Regions from separate parts of the Homo sapiens genome. Here region 1 is linked to region 2. The links are contacts of gene promoters, found by promoter capture Hi-C in human tissues and cell types (Jung and others, 2019). All regions are on one chromosome and are shown on one strand. The core of a region is centred on a gene start or on the middle of the fragment in contact, and the rest is flanking DNA. Distances in the headings are between cores, read along the strand shown. Region 1 holds the start of SUGP2 (SURP and G-patch domain containing 2). Region 2 holds the start of COLGALT1 (collagen beta(1-O)galactosyltransferase 1).

Region 1 (4,766 bases), core at 953-3,452, 1.5 Mb after region 2:
TTTAAAGTCAGGAGTTGGAGACCAGCCTGGCCAACATGGCAAAACCCTGTCTCTACTAAAAATACAAAAATTAGCCGGGCATGGTGGTGCCTGCCTTTAATCCCAGCTACTTGGGAGGCTGTGGCAAGAGAATTGCTTGAACCCAGGAGGCGGAGGTTGCAGTGGGCCGAGATCATGCCACTGCACTCCAGCATGGGTAACAGAGTGAGACTCCGTCTCAAAAAAAAAAAAAAAAAAATTTCACCAGGCATGGTGGCACGTGCCTGTAATCCCAAATACTCAGGAGGCTGAGGCATGGGAATTGCTTGAACCAGGGAGACAGAGGTTGCAGTGAGCCGAGATCATGCCACTGCCCTCCAGACTGGGGGACAGAGCGAGACTGTCTCAAAGAAAAAAAAAATGCGTGCTCACAGAACCTGCTCTATTTCACTTAATCCTCGAAGTAAGGAGGCAGTAATCCATAATCCTCGCATGGTACTTCAGAGGCAAGCTGGACCCTTTTTATTTATCTTTTTTTTTTTTTTTTTTAAGTAGAGACAGGGTTTTGCTAGGTTGGCCAGGCTGGTCTCGAACTCCTGACCTCAAGCAATCTGCCCACCTTGTCTGGACTCTTTTAAGGGGGTCTCTGCCCTCACGAAGTTCACAGGTGTGTGCTGGCTGAAAAGGAGCAAGACAAACCTTCTCTGGGCCCATCTCCTTGGAATCCATTAAAAGCAGCTCTGTGAAAGCAGTTCTATCTGCTGGAGGAAGGTGTCAACCAACACACATAACTGAGCATAACAGAGTAGGAAGGGTGGGACCACAACCCTCGCAAATCGTGGTTAGGAAAGAAGAGATCAATCTTTTTTTTTTTTTTCTTCCTTTTTTTGAGACTCTCCCTGTTGCCCAGGCTGGAGTGCAGTGGCATGATCTCGGCTAACTGCAACCTCCGCCTCCTGGACTCAAGCAATTCTCCTGCCTCAGCCTCCTGAGTAGCTGGGATTACAGGAGTCCGCCACCGCATCCGACTAATTTTTATATTTTAGGTAGAGATGGAGTTTCACCATGTTGGCCAGGCTGGTCTTGAATTCCTGACCTCAAGTGATTCGCCCGCTTCGGCCTCCCAAAGTGCTGGGATTCCAGGCCGTGAGCCACTGCGCCTGGCCCAGGATCACTCTTTTCCCATTCACAGACTCAGCAGGGCACAGAGGCTCTGAGAACTTCCTTCCCTTCTAAAAGAAGCCTCTTGACAGTGAGTGGCGGGACCCCCAACCAATGACAATGAACTAGTGACAGTTCATTCTGCGCTGGGTCCTTGCGCGATCTCCCAACCACCCACTGAAGAGGCGGGTCCTGTTATGAATGACATTAGGGTGAGGAGGCAAAGGGAGACAGACTCAACGACCCATTCAAGACCAGACAGCCCAGATTTGAACCTGGCAAAAAGGGTATTCGTGCATCCAAAGCCCCGAAGAATGAGTAAAAAGATTAAGCAACATTTTGGGGTCCAGGGGCTGCATCCTTAACCATCAAGATATCCCGCTTCGCAAAACCTCCAACTTCAAGAGACAACCCGTAGGGTCCATTTCCCATCACGATCACCGCCTCCCCCACCCGCCTCCCCCAGTCCCATCCTTCAGCCCTTTTCCCGGGGCGCCCCCTTGTTCTCTGCTGGCAAAGGGCAGGGTTCCCGGGTCAGGTGACCCAGGTTCAAATCACACGATTCTAAGCTTTCTGTGCTTCCGTTTCCCCACCTATGGAATGGGCAGCCAGTAAAGGGGCTGGTGTGGGGGCTGAACCGGTTCTAAAGAGGGCAAGGGCCCGATGCAGCGCTGGGCGCCGTTATCTCCTCCCGAGCGGGGGCCGCTCCGAGTTCGGGAGGAATGAATGAACGACTGAACCAATGAGCCTTTGTGGACGCGGCCCGCCGTCTCCCGGCCTCTGCGGGCGAGGAAATGGGGGCGCCGGGCCCGGGAGGCCGCAGCCGGCCACCCAGGCCAACCCGGCGGGGACGCGGCCGCCGCCGCAGCCAGAGGGCCGAGCCTGCGACGCCATCACGGAGCCCGGGGCGGGCCCCCAAGGCCGAGCCCGAGCTTCCCACCCCGGGAGCCACCCACCGACGACGCCAGGGCCCGGGCCTCACCCCGAGACCACCGCGCGCGGAGCCACCCCCGCCGCCGCCTCAGGCTCCTCACCCGCCGCCGCCGCCGCGCGAGGCGGGGACATGCAAATGAACCAACGGTCTCCGCAGCGCCGCGCCGCGCAGGCGCAAGCCGCCGCCGAGTCCTGGTGCGCAGGCGCGGGCCGCCGCGGCCCGGCTCTCTTGCGCAAGCGCGCTGTCCGCTTCTTCTGGGCGGACGCTCTGGAGGCAAAACATTTCCCTGCTGGGGGCGGCGACCACCGTGAGCGTCCCGGAAGGGGCGGCAAAGACGCCTCCGTCGCGCACGAGGTGGCCTCGTTGGCTTTACCTTGGTTCGCGGTCGTCCTTGGTTATCGTGAGCGTCCGCGAGTCTCTGGGAGGCCAAGCCTAGGGGCGCCACAGCGCCTGCGCGCGTACGGCGGCCGGAAGGGGCTAGAGGCGGCTCCCTGGGTGACAACCGCGCGCCCCACCTTTCCCCACGTGGCCGCGAAGACCGGGTGAGACGCTGCGGCTGCCGAGGCCTGTCCCGCGCGGAGTGGGGAGTGGGGGTGCCGCAGGGTCGGGCTGGCGCGACCCTCGGGTACGTGGTTTGGGGGGAAAAAAAAAATGAAAGAATTTTACAGAAGCCGCCTGGGGACAAAATCCTCGGCTTCCCTGGCATTCGCTTTATTTTCATTCATTTTATTTATTCATTCAGCACCTGTGCACTGAGTGCCTGCTGCGTGTCGGGCCCCGTCCTAGGCAGTGGGGACAAGGAGGCTACAGGGTACAAATAAATGAGTGAACGATGTTGCTCTAGATACAGGTAATGGTGTGCAAATAATAACAGAGTGATGGGACGGGAAAGCAGGGCTGCTCTTTATCTAGAAGTGGTTTTGAAGGCTGTCTCTTGAGTGCTGGGAAGGATGAGAAAGGCGGGGAAGAGGAACTTGGAAGGCTTAGATAGAGAAGGTGCGGATAAGGAGGCTGGGTTTTGTTCTGAGAGGGTTGGGAAGCCACTACCGGGCTTTGAGCACGTGAGTGAGGTGGAGTCTAGGCTCTGGGAGTGGCAGGTGACGCCGCCCTTAGGGGAGGCTGGTGTTTGAACCAGAGTGGGTGTGGCTGGTAGAGGGACATGTGGATGGAGTCTTTTAGAGTCCCCAGCATGTCATGGCACACGTTTAATTTTCTTTTGAGACGGAGTCTTTCTCTGTCGCCCAGGCTAGAGTGTAGTGGCATGATCTTGACTCACTGCAACCTCCACCTCCCGGGTTCAAGGGCTTCCCCTGCCTCAGCCTCCCGAGTAGCTGGGACTACAGGTGCGCAACACCGCACCTGGCTAAATTTTGTATTTTTTTTTTTTTTGAAACGGAGTCAAAAGGAGTTCAAGCGATCTCCTGCCTCAGCCTCCTGAGTAGCTGGGATTACCGGTGTGCACTATCTTGCCTGGCCTTTTTTTTTTTTTTTGAGACGGAGTCTCGTTCTGTCACCCAGGCTGGAGTGCAGTGGCGCAATCTCAGCTCACTGCAAGCTCCGTCTCCTGGGTTCAGGCCATTCTCCTGCCTCAGCCTCCCGAGTAGCTGGAAATACAGGCACCCGCCACCACGCCCGGCTAGTTTTTTTGTATTTTTTTAGTAGAGACGGGGTTTCACCGTGTTAGCCAGGATGGTCTTGATCTCCTGACCTCATGATCCGCCCGCTTCGGCCTCCCAAAGTGCTGGGATTACAGGCGTGAGCCACCGTGCCCGGCCCTGGCTAATTTTTTGTATTTTCAGTAGAGACAGGATTTTGCTATGTTGGCCAGGCTGTTCTCAAACTCCTGACCTCAAGTGATCTACCCGCCTCAGACTCCCAAAGCGCTGGGATTATAGGCCTGAGCCACCGCACCTGGACAGCACAGTTTTCTTGATGAGCAGATTCCTGGCTGAGAGAAGGAAACTGGCTGCCAGTTAGGGGCCTTACTCATCTTCTGTTTTACCCTCAGCATGCCCTGATGGATAATAGGGACTGGTAATGCTGCTTCCCCCTTTTAGCCTAGGCTGTTCTCCAGGTAATTCTTACTTGGCCATCTCCAGGCACCATCTTATGTGTTCCAAATCTGTACTTTCCTCCTCCAACTCAGCCCTGTACCAGATCTAGGGGACCTTGGAGGACTCAGGTCAGGGGTGGTCACAGAGCCAGACCTTCCCAACTCAGTCAGCTCAGGGGTGGGTGGAAGGGAGGGGTTGTGGGTTGGGGAGTGAAGCCAGAGAGTGTGGGCTCTCTGAGTGGCCAGGAAAGGCAGCCACCTGGAAGGGCTGGCAGAAGCTCCACAGAGGACTGAGAATCCGAAGTATTTGAGACAGGTGTCAATCAGTTAGAAAGCTTATTTTGCCAAGGTTAAGGACATGTCTGTGACACAGCCTCAGGAGGTCCTGACAACATGTACCCAAGGTGGTTGGGGCACAGCTTGCTTTTATACATTTTAGGGAGACGTGAGATATAAATGAATATGTGTAAGATGGTCACAGGTAGAGACAAATGATTGCTTTCTTTTGAGTCTTTGGTCAGCCTTTCACAGAATACACGATTTATATGGGGTACAGGGCAGGTAGAGGAATAGTCATTTATGCCTCAGTCCGACTCATGAATCTGAGGTTTTGTTTCTTGTTTTTTGTTTTATTTTTTG
Region 2 (5,022 bases), core at 1,011-3,510:
GTCATCTGCTAACTGGATATTGGCAGCTTCTCTGCTGTCTTGCAGCTGCTTCCGGAGTGGGTTCCACAGGGATTCCCGTGTGTTCTTGGTTCAGCTTGCAGAGGGACTTTCACACTCCCTGGAGACCGTTTCCTCCCATTCTGTCTGGAGTTTTCGGCCTACCCCAAGACAATGAGATATTCCTGACCTTTCCACCTATTTCCCTCCAACCCCACCTTCCGAAATACATTTGCTCAATACATTTGCACTTCATAGGCTTCTTTAGCTGTCTTCCTTTTACCCCGGACGGGATGTAGATGTTAATTCTGGAACAATTGCAGCTACAAGAATTTGTCATCCTGCCCCTTTTGAGAAAAACATTGTTTGCCCTTGGGTCTAAATCCTTCCAGATGGGATGGGATGTATCTTGTCACCTCCTTTTTCTTACTTAATATGAAAAGACCTTTCCTCATCAAGTCCACAGAGTGTAAATTTGTTTTTACCTTTTTTTTTTTTTTTTTGAGACGGTGTCTCACTCTGTCACCCAGGCTGGAATGCAGTGGTGCGATTTTGGCTCACTGCAACCTCCACCTCCTGGGTTCAAGTGATTCTCCTGCCTCGGCCTCCGTAGTAGCTGGGATTACAGGCGAAGCGCCACCATGACCGGCTAATTTTTTGTGTTTTTAGAAGAGATGGGGGCTTCACCATATTGACCAAGCTGGTCTCGAACTCCTGACCTCAAGTGATCCGCCTGCCTCAGCCTCCCAAAATGCTGGGATTACAGGCGTGAGCCACTGCACCTGGCCTGTATCATTCTTAAAAATTAAGTTTTAGCGGGGCATGATGGCTCACTGGTAATCCCAGCAGTTTGGGAGGCTGAAGGGGGAGGATTACTTGAGACCAGGAGTTTGAGAACAGCCGGGGCAACATAGCGAGACTCCATCTCTACAAAAAATTTAAAAATTAGCTGGGCGTGGTTGAGTGCACTTGTAGTCCCAGCTACTTGGGAGGCTGAGGCAGGAGGATCAGTTGAGCCCAGGAGGTTGAGGCTGCAGTGAGCCATGATCATGTGATCATGCCACTGCACTCTAGCCTGAGCCACAGAGTAAGACCCTCTCTGTGAAAATAATAATAAGCTGGGCGCGGTGGCTCACGCCTGTAATCCCAGCACTTTGGGAGGCTGAGGTGGGCGGATCAGGAGGTCAGGAGTTCGAGACCAGCCTGGCCAATATGGTGAAACCCCATCTCTACTATAAACAAAAATTAGCCGGGCGTGGTGGCGCGTGCCTGTAGTCCCAGCTACTCAGGAGGCTGAAGCAGGAGAATCGCTTGAACCCGGGAGGCGGAGGTTGCAGTGAGCCGAGATCGCGCCACTGTACTCTAGCCGGGGCAATGGAGTGAGACGCTGTCTCAAAAAAAAAAAAAAAGAAAATAATAATAATAATAATAATAATGTTCAGATGTATTTTTTAAAGTTTTTATTGTTTTTAAAAATAGAGGCACGGTCTTGCTATGTTGCACCACTGCACTCCAGCCCGGGCAACAAAGCCAGACTCCGTCTCAAAAAAAAAAAAAAAAAAGTGTGATACTAAGTCAATCAATTTGAAAATGCGGCTCTAGAGTATTGGAAAACAATCCCTTGACAGCGTTTCCATGAAAACATGGCCCTTGTCTCTGGAAGAGCTTGTGCCCAGAACGGTCCATTATCATGCCCTGGCTCTATTTTCACGCCAACCCTATAGGGTCTCTATGATCTCATTTTATAGATGGACAGACTGAGGCTCACATATAGCAAGCCCAAGGCGGGGACTGAATGTGACGCCAGGTCTGTGGACGTCATGACCTTTATTCTCCACAACCCTCAATGACATCCCTGTGAGATCCAAAACCAGGATGGCAAAACCCACGTTGCAGCAGAGGAAACTGAGGCTAAGGTCTCTTGGGTCCCAAACCAGGTCCTAAGTAGCCAAGTCCGCCTGGTGGCACAGCCCGGGTTTTATACATGGGGAAATTGGGCGGCGCATCTGGCGGAGGTCTCAGTGGTAGGAGGCGCCTGGAGGAAGCGCGGGTTCCTAACCCTAACGCTACCCCTAACATCCCTTCCACGCGCTCCGAGCGCTATGTGCCTTTAAGATCGGTGCGGGGGCGGGGCGTCCTGGGTAGGGCTGCAGGTGACGTCACTCCGGGCCTTGGGACTCGGAGAGCGTCTGGAGGCGGGGCCTGGACTTCACGCCCGGCGCGCTCCTCCCCTTTAAGGCGCGCGGCCGGGCGGGGCCCCTATGACCCCTTTAAGGCGCGGCCAGAGTCCTCCCGCAGAAAAACGACTTAAAGGAGACGCGTGGCGCGATGGCGGCGGCCCCACGCGCGGGCCGGCGGCGCGGGCAGCCGCTCCTGGCGCTGCTGCTTCTGCTGCTGGCGCCACTGCCGCCGGGGGCCCCGCCGGGCGCCGACGCCTACTTCCCCGAGGAGCGCTGGAGCCCGGAGTCGCCCCTGCAGGCGCCGCGCGTGCTCATCGCGCTGTTGGCGCGAAACGCGGCCCACGCGTTGCCCACCACGCTGGGCGCACTCGAGCGGCTGCGGCACCCGCGGGAGCGCACGGCGCTATGGTGAGTCGAGCCCGCTGTCCCCATCAGGCGGGTCACGCGAGCCCCTGCTTGCTGTCCCCATAGGGGTGGGTCCACGCGAGCCCCTGCCCGCTGTCCTCTTCTGGGCGGGTCCGCGCGTGCTTCCTGCTCGCTACCCCCATCGGGACGGTTCTACGCATGCCCCTGCCCGCTGCCCCCATCGGGACGGGTCCACGCGTGCCCCCTGCCTGCTGTCCTCCCATGGGGCCAGACACAGCCCTCCCCACAACACAAGCGGGACCGAGTTCCTCCTGCTGGCTCCTTTGGGGTGGGCTGGGCACCGCTTCTGCCTGCTGGACCCTACTAGGGCAGCTCCGGCCTCACTAACTGGGGCTCTAACTCCCTCTGGGGCACGTACACCTCCAAAGGACGGAGCCCAGAGCCCCCACTGGGGCGTTGCCAGAGGCCACATCTAACAGCAAGCCTTTCTGTGCCGGCTGCTGCCCTTAAGCTTGAACTCAGCCTGGCTCCAGGCCCCAGTCAAACCCCTGCCCTCAGACCGGCGTGGGTGGAGTCCAGGACCAGATGGCCCAGGAGGAAGTGGATGCTTTCTTGGTAGGGAATGGGGCAGAGCTCTGAAGAAACCTTTGACTGGTGACTTCTCACTCCCTGCCTCAGTTTTCTCAAATGGAAAATGGGTCCGGGTGCAGTGGCTCACGCAGTAATCCTAGCAATTTGGGAGGCCAAGGTAAGCGGGTCACTTGAGCTCAGGAGTTCGACACCAGCCTTGCCAACATGGCAAAACCCCGTCTCTAGAAAAAAAATACAAAAATTAGCCAGGTGCGGTGGTGTGTGCCTGTAGTCCCAGCTATTCAGGAGGCTGACGCAGGAGAATCGCTTGAGCCCAGGAGTTCGAGGCTGCAGTGACCTATGATTGCACCACTGCACTCCAGCCTGGGCTACAGAGTAAGACCTGCCTCTAAAAAAAGAAAAAGAAAAGAAAATGAGCGTATTAATATAATTCTCTTTTTGGGTTTGTCTCTGAAGATTATCCAGTTAATGGATGTGGAGCCCTTGGGTCTGGCATGGGCTTGGCTCTCAGTGATTTTATTATCATGATTACTGTCATTGCTGGTGTTATTGTCAACTTAATTTATTGGGCAGAATTAGCTTTTGGCACTACGGTCAAACTAAACTCCCAAATGTCGCTTTTCCTTCCACCTGATTTCTCAGTCTGGATAATCCAAATACACAATTGGTACTTAACAAATGTTTGTTGAATGAATAATTGACTGCAGCCCACTGAAGTGGTGTGGCTCACAGGAGAAGATGAAGGCAGGGTAAGGGATTTATGAGATATACTTTGAGATATACTTTTTTTTTTCTCTCAGACGGAATCTTGCTCTGTCGCCCAGGCTGGAGTACAGTGACACGATCTCAGCTCATTGCAACCTCCGCCTCCGGGTTCAAGTGATTCTCCTGCCTCAGCCTCCCGAGTAGCTTGGGATTACAGGTGCGCACCACCATGCCTGGCTAATTTTTGTATTTTTAATAGAGTCAGGGTTTCACCATTGTGGCCAGGCTTGTGTTGATCTCCTGACCTCATGATCTGCCTGCCTCGGCCTCCCTAAGTGCTGGGATTACAGGCATGAGCCACAGCGCCCTGCTGAGATATACTTTTTTTTTTGATACAGGGTTTTACATCTGTCGCCCAGGCGGGAGTGCAGTGGTGCAATCCTAGCTCACTGCAACTTCCCCCTCCTGGGCTCAAGTGATTCTCCTGCCTCAGCTTCTTGAGTAACTGGGACTACAGGCGTATGCCACTGCGCCCAGCTAATTTTTGTATTTTTTCTAGAGATGGGGTTTTGCCCTATTGGCCAGGCTGGTCTCGAACTCCCGAGCTCAAGTGACCTGCCCACCTCGGCCTCCCAACATATTGGGATTACAGGCGTGAGCCATTGCACCCAGCTGGTTTCTGATATATACATTTCATTTTTTAATATTTTTTATTTATTTATTTTTTGAGACTGAGTCTCGCTCTCGTTGCTGAGGCTGGAGTGCAGTGGCACGATCTCGGCTCACTGCAACCTCCTCCTCCCAGGTTCAAGCGATTCTCCTGCCTCGGCCTCCTGAGTAGCTGGGATTACAGGTGCCCGCCACCACACCCAGCTAATTTTTTGTGTTTTTAGTAGAGATGGGATTTCACCATGTTGGCCAGGCTAGGCTCAAACTCCTGGCCTCAAGTGATTCACCCGCCTCGGCCTCCCAAAGTGCTGGAATTACAAGCGTGAGCCACCATGCCCGGCCTAATTTTTGTATTTTTAGTAGAGATGGGGTTTCGCCATGTTGGCCAGGCTGGTCTCAAACTCCTGACCTCAGGTGATACACCCGCCTCGGCCTCTCAAAGTGCTGGGATGACAGGCGTGAGCCACCGTGCCTGGCCTGATCTATACATTACAAAAATTGCCGTGTGCGGTGG

Evidence for each region. The method cuts DNA at HindIII sites, captures the fragments that hold promoters and counts their contacts. A contact is called where the count stands out against the background at its distance.
Region 1: the fragment with the promoter of SUGP2 here is called in contact with the fragment with the promoter of COLGALT1 in region 2 in 1 of the 25 tissues and cell types used here (lymphoblastoid cells).

The regions. Positions count from the first base shown.
Region 1 is chr19:19,031,315-19,036,080 of GRCh38, forward strand. It overlaps SUGP2 (SURP and G-patch domain containing 2), which reads right to left and starts at 2,203. Exons shown (of 11, transcript NM_001017392.5): 1 at 2,123-2,203. ARMC6 (armadillo repeat containing 6) reads left to right here and starts at 2,289. Exons shown (of 9, transcript NM_001199196.2): 1 at 2,289-2,616; 2 at 2,817-2,924. The coding sequence starts at 2,896. RefSeq lists an enhancer at 935-1,436 and silencers at 1,363-1,442, 1,863-2,292. The HindIII fragment of the contact is 6,904 bases long and covers 1-4,766 here.
Region 2 is chr19:17,553,389-17,558,410 of GRCh38, forward strand. COLGALT1 (collagen beta(1-O)galactosyltransferase 1) reads left to right here and starts at 2,261. Exons shown (of 12, transcript NM_024656.4): 1 at 2,261-2,585. The coding sequence starts at 2,326. NIBAN3 (niban apoptosis regulator 3) reads left to right here. Exons shown (of 15, transcript NM_001321827.2): 15 at 1-252. RefSeq lists a silencer at 2,339-2,428. The HindIII fragment of the contact is 12,267 bases long and covers 1-5,022 here.